2 separate regions of the Homo sapiens genome follow, and region 2 is linked to region 1. Evidence: promoter capture Hi-C in 16 types of primary human blood cells and fetal thymus (Javierre and others, 2016). All regions are on one chromosome and are shown on one strand. The core of a region is centred on a gene start or on the middle of the fragment in contact, and the rest is flanking DNA. Distances in the headings are between cores, read along the strand shown.

Region 1 (3,270 bases), core at 336-2,835:
CAATTACATCTCAGCATCATGGTTGGATGTTTCCACCTGGCTACATAAGCAAGCTTTACACAAGGTGTAATTTGCCTAAATAGTGGTCCATTCTATTGGGGTGGGAGCAATTGCTTCCAGGACTCACATCCATATGGCTCCCACTTAGCCATGTGGCCTGCTGACAAAGGGTGGCGGAACTGTCACTACTCTGTTGTCCACGCTTTCAGTCCTTTGGTTTCCTCTTCACTCCCTGGACGCTCATGTAAAAAGGGAGGCCATATACCTGTGCATTGTGTGTCTAAGCATTCAGTGTGTGTCTAAAGGCAGAAGGGTGTGGGTAGGAAAACAAAGACGAGGGAAGCTGCGTTCTCCAAACACTTCAGACTTGAGTAAGTGGGGTTTTGCAGCAATTGAGTGATTTGAGGGAAAGTGAACATACAAACCCAAGCAATCAAAGGGAATATTATCTTAATACCAGGGATACATGTTTTTCTTTCTGCCTCTTAAGTCCAAAGAGGCAAATCAGGACAAGTGGCTTTGGTTGTAAACTTTAAGGTCAAGGATCCTTTCTGTTGAGCTTAGCTCTCAAGTTCTCAGTAGTCAACTGCGGTGAAACATAATTAATAGCACGATAAATACAAGTTGTGGAAGATTCGATTGAAAGTTGGAGGCCCTCTCCGTGGATCTCTCTACAAAGAGCCTGTAATAAAGAGGACTTAATCAACGTTAGCAGGGCTATTTAAAAAGCATCGTCTATTAAAATTCATTTCTTCTCTAGAGCCTCTTGTTGGAGTTTCTCTGTGTGGGTGTGTTCGTAAGAGAGGAATGGGTTAGCAAGAGTACTGGGTACAATTTGTGTATCCAAGAGAAAACAGAAGCTCTCAATGAGGAAGAACATATGTTTCTGGGACTGCATCTGTGCAAAAAGTACATAGTCCTGACGTTGTACTAAGAAAAAAAACACTCTCTTTAGAAAGTCTTTTATTTCACACGTTATCTTCTTGGCACATTTCCCTCATATTGCCCTTTCCGCCTGACCAAATAGCCCTTTCTCACCCTCAGGTCCAGGAAAACCAGGAAACGTTTCCAACAGTGCGACAAAGCCTGACTAACCAGACATACTACTCGCTCGGGGATCCCGGAGGCAAGCCTCAGTCCAAGAACAGGAGTGACTCTCGAGGGCTCACCTGCCTGCAGGGCAGCCCCTCCCTGCATCGAGCGGAAATCCATCCTGTCCAGCGCGGGGCGTGGGCAGAGCGGGGCGCGGCCCCGGCAGGCGGTATCCGCTGGGACTCCGACAACGTGCGCGACCCCAGGCGAACCGCGCCCCTCTCCCCACCTCCCCGCGGGCGGGTACAAGTCTCCAGGTGTCCGCGCGCTCAGCGGGTCCGGCCCGCCCCCGCCCCCGCCCCCGGGCCCGACTGCGCGTGCCCGGCCGGAGCCGCGCCCCCTCCTCAGGGAAGGCCGGGCGTCCGGCCCACGAGGCCGAGCTCCCCCCCGGCCCGGGCCTCTCACCGGCGCGGGGGGCGGGCCAGGGGCGGGGCCGGACTCGAGCGGGGCGGGGCTCGCGCCAGCGCCCCCAGCTCCGTGGCGGCTTCGCCCGCGAGTCCAGAGGCAGGCGAGCAGCTCGGTCGCCCCCACCGGCCCCATGGCAGCCCCCGGCGCCCCAGCTGAGTACGGCTACATCCGGACCGTCCTGGGCCAGCAGATCCTGGGACAACTGGACAGCTCCAGCCTGGCGCTGCCCTCCGAGGCCAAGCTGAAGCTGGCGGGGAGCAGCGGCCGCGGCGGCCAGACAGTCAAGAGCCTGCGGATCCAGGAGCAGGTGCAGCAGACCCTCGCCCGGAAGGGCCGCAGCTCCGTGGGCAACGGTGAGTGGAGCCCGCCGCTCCCCGGCGCCGCCCCCTGCCCCACACCCGGTCACCTCCTCCTATCCCGCCCTCACCCCGCGTGCTGGGAGTGCGGGACCCCGTGTTCTGCCCACCTGTTGCTCGCCGTCTTCGGTATGACCGACTTGCTTGTGGAAAGCACTCTTTTCCATAACCTATTACTCAGCTTTGTCATATAGGTACCTATGTATATTAAATATTGTACATATCTATCAATGTTAACTAACTCACTTCAAGATTTCACCCCTTTCTTTTTCTACTCCGCCGGTCCGCGCCCCTCACTGGTGCGGACTTAATTTGAAGGTTCAGGGAGTCTATAAACACCTTGAGATGCTATGCAGAATTTTTGGTGTGTACGATCTTTTTCTGGGAGAAGGAGCCCTTCAATTTTATTAGATTTGTTAAATAATTAATGACCCCCATAAATATCTTGGGGAAAAAAACCGACAGCACTGGCGCTCCTACAACCTATAAATTGGGATTGTGCTGTCTTATGCAAGTACTTCGGGGCGCTCCACCCTGTGTGGGAGGCGAGTGGTGGATCTAGGGAGTGAAGAAAAGTAGTTAGGAGGCTTTGGTCCAGGGAACAAACACGCCGAGGAGGAGGTAGGGGACTTTGGCCCTGCCGGCAACAGCCGTGCCCGCCTAGCTGCGCTTCCTACCCCCACCAGTGCGGGCGTGATGCAAGTCTGATCCCTCCAAAAAATTAAACCCGAAGGTGAAAGGGGTGTAAGCACACACATGCACACTATGTTCATGATTGATAGACGGGGGAGGTGGAAGGGAAAGAAGATGGCAAGCCACTTGTGAAAATTAGAGATCATGATGTATCCTTTTCTCCCCTGCTGAAGTCAGGTGATGGGATCAACTCAGTGACCCTTGTTTTACTTCTTGTTGCTGTGTATGTGAGTTTGCATTATAAAAGCACTATGTTGGCTTATAGCAAAAAGAAGAGGAAAGAAATTGAGCAATTAAGTTGGAATATCTGTTTCCTGCAACGTTCAGTTGTTTCTGTATGAAGTAACTTGGGCATTGGCGAATGTAGGCTAACCCATTCTAGTTTCTATTAGGAAAACAGAAAAATTCTAACAGGCCAGACCAGAGATTTCAAACAGCAGAGTCTGGGAGGCTGTACTGTGTGTGTAAAAGAATCCTAAAGGATGACGTAGTCAATATTAACATACTTGAAAGGTAAAGAGAAGATGTTCAATGATCGTAGTTAATATAACTGAGTGCATACTATGTGCCAAGAATTGGGCGATGTGGTTTGCATTCATTTGAGATATATATATATATATGTATTTAAAAACTTGTGAGTTAGGTATTTTCATCCTCATTTTACAGATGAGGAAACTAAGCAGTTAAGTAACACTGAAGCTCTAATAGATGGTAAGTGGCA
Region 2 (3,270 bases), core at 209-2,708, 1.1 Mb before region 1:
GATTACGGGCCACGTCCTTTTGGCTACCAGTTATGATTTAATAGTGTTCCCTAAAACGTCATCTAAAAATAAAATAATACATATAGCCAAATGCTAATTATATAGCAGTAGCAGAGGTATTCAGGAAATTCGTCAGTTTTCTTTTTCTTCCCAGTTCCTGTGAGTCATTGCTCATTGTGTGAAATAAGATGCCCTCAGGTGAATAGCTAACTTTGTTAGAAAAACACCATCAACCATGAGCAATCGTGACAATAAGGATTTTCCTGTCAAGTAGTACTTTTGGATTAGACACAATACCATTGTTAAGTAGTGGGGAGTCCAGCTGCCTGGCTTCTTTCCTTAAATGTGTAACTAAGCATACTCACTGTTACCCACTGAAAGCCAATTAGTATTTGCAACCTGAAGAGCCATCTTTGGGGAGCAAATTTCTAACTGGATAACTGACCAAACTAACTCAGTATCATTTATAAATTTAATGATGCTTGTTTGACTAAGAAAGCTTTAATGAATAACTATAATTAATGGCAAATTATTTTTCTTACATATATATTAAGATTTATAATCCAAGAACTTCCTAGAACATGACACTTTAATGTGTTTTCTTATCAAGGGTTATCTATTCTTTTGGCATCTGTGTGATAAATACAGAATGTTTCTCAGCTCATACGTTTTCTGGAAAAAGATCTGTGACTGTGACAGTGGGTGAGAGGAATGGGGAATTAGAAAAAGAAATAACACTTTAAGGGAGACATGGACTGTGACTAAGGAATAGAAAGGGAAAGCCAAAAATGGTTGAGGATTCATTACTAAAAATGTCAGCGGGATAGTGAATAAAAGCTGAGTGGTCTACAGTGTAGTCTTTAAGATCATATTTTAAGCCTAAAAACAAAGATTTTTATAAACTTTTATTGATTCATGGCTCAGTTGGGAGTAAAACGCACAATTATACCTATAGTAAGACAAAGCTAAACCAATTCACTGGAGACAGGAAATGATTTATCAGTTGGAAAAAGACCAACAAAACTAAGGCACATTCAACTTTGTACTTCTAAACTAAGCACTAATTAAAAGCCACCAGCTGTTCCTCGAACAATATATCCTGCTAATTCAGATGACTTTAAATCTTGTTGCCCAAATACATTAAAAGTTAATATTTCCCTGCTTCTCAAAGTGCTTCTTATGTTCTGCCATACCCCAAGAAGAAGTTGGTGATTACTGGAGAGGGTATCGTGACTATTTTCTCTTAGATTGATGAAGTTTGTCATACTTTATCCCCAGGGAAAGTTAAAAAAAAATCTGTTGATTCCTTACAATTCTCTAAAGGAGTAAATCTAGGCAACTGTGCAGAATTTGATAGAATTAGAAGGCAATGAGTTTTTCTCTCTCACTAATTCAAACTTACTAATATAATATTATAGTCTAGTCAAAAACTTCTAGTAGATATGGTTGTAAGAAGTCAGGATAGCAAAAGCATTTTATGCCACTTTGGAATTGTGATTGTTACCTGTGTTTTTGTATAGAAAATTCTTTTTCATGGCGTTGAGCTACTAATAGTTACTTCCATGAGTAACAGTTCATAAATATTCAAAATGTGCTAGGAATAATTTCTGGATTTTTGCTTTCTTTTAGAGCTCTTGCCTGTGCTGCCAAAAGTCATTTGTGACTAGGTTAGTGAATTAGACAAGAGTAGATTCTCATCAGAGCTCCTGAGGGTCAGATATCATAGTCATTGTCTTTGTTGCAAAGCATTGACTGAAGAGTAAAAAGAAATAAAGATATGTGCAATTGGTCCTGTTTATTTCTTTTAGTGATCTCAGGAATCTTAAGAGCAGCTATAGAAACAAAGTTATAGGGTGAATTTTGATGACCATCTTGTAAGGTCAAGAATCCCATGTTGTCATTCTAAAGAATGACATCTGAGTTACCATCTGGTAACTCATTTATTTTATAAATATTTATTGAGTACCACTCTATCATGCATTGTTTTATGTTCTGGGGTTAAAGCATCAATCAAGATAGTCAAGGTCAAAATTCTCACGTAATGCATACAGAGAAAAAATAAAAAAAGAAAAATATTAGACAACTATAAGCACTATACAGAAAATTAAAATAGGGTAATAGAGAGTGATTTGGAGGCCACTTGAGACTAGAATAAGAAAAAGACTTCTTGGAAGAGGTGACATTTCAGCTATACCCAGATTAAATAGAAGAAGTTTCTTATCAGAGAACAGTTAGTAGACCTGTTCTATCTGTTAGAAACTAAGACTCTAAGGCAAACCCTACATAGTAGGTAACAGAAAGAACAATATGATTGGAGCATACGGTGGAAGGGGAAGTCCTACAAGGTAGGCAGAGGCCAGGTCATGATATTCTTTTTAAGTGTGTATGGATTTAATTCTAAGACACTAGGAAGCTTTAAATAGGAGAGTTATGTTATCTGATTAATATTTAGCCAGATTACCTTGGCTCCTGAGTGAATAAGGCATTTAGAGGTGGGGAGAGCTATTGAGTAGTCCATGTTATAAAAGATGGTGGCCTGGACAAGAGTGGTAGAAATAAGAGTAAAGTGAAGGTAAAGTGAATTGATTTGGGATACATTTTGGAAGTGGAGCTGGTGAAACTTGCTAATAAAATGAATGTGGGTGTTTTGTGAATGAAAGGATTCATGGACAACTCAGGTTTTTGGTTTAATAAAAGCGGTGGATCTGTTTTCTAAGGGGAAGATAGAAGTAAGGCCAAATTTTGGAGAAAGGGGAGATTAACAGTTTTGTTTTGGCTTATATATTTAATATAATTAATTTAGTTTTTAGGGTAAATTCAATATGGCTGAGATAATGATGATTATAATAATTATTCTCTGTTTCATCTTGCTTTCTCTATAACTTCACAAATTCTCCAAGTTTGTTAACAATCCAATGAGGGAGAAATTCACAAACATTAACAAAAATATTAAATACTTACCGAAAGAAAATCATTCACCAAATTTGTTGAGTTCTTCATTCAATATTTACTATGTACTACTTGTTAATAGTAGTATATACTATGTGTACTATTTATAAAACTTGGAGTGAAACATAACTGAATAGCCTAAAAGACTCGTGTGTGTGTGTGTATGTGCATGTGTGTGTGTGTGTGTGTGTGATAGAATGGCATCTGTGTGATATCAGGATGGGGTATCACATTGAATGATGTTGTGGGCCGAATAGTGTCTCCCCTTAGTCCATTCTTATGCTGCTATAAAGGACTGCCTGAGATTGGGTAACTTATAAA

Evidence for each region. The method cuts DNA at HindIII sites, captures the fragments that hold promoters and counts their contacts. A CHiCAGO score of 5 or more calls a contact.
Region 2: a fragment that was not itself captured here is called in contact with the fragment with the promoter of PKP2 in region 1 in 1 of 17 cell types (endothelial precursors); the score reaches 5.5 in endothelial precursors.

Annotation. Positions count from the first base shown.
Region 1 is chr12:32,895,092-32,898,361 of GRCh38, reverse strand. PKP2 (plakophilin 2) reads left to right here and starts at 1,585. Exons shown (of 13, transcript NM_001005242.3): 1 at 1,585-1,853. The coding sequence starts at 1,631. RefSeq lists silencers at 1,177-1,276, 1,477-1,586. The HindIII fragment of the contact is 4,432 bases long and covers 56-3,270 here.
Region 2 is chr12:33,986,062-33,989,331 of GRCh38, reverse strand. No RefSeq gene overlaps it. Among named protein-coding and RNA genes, the nearest start is that of ALG10, 35 kb to the left of the region's middle. The HindIII fragment of the contact is 1,914 bases long and covers 502-2,415 here.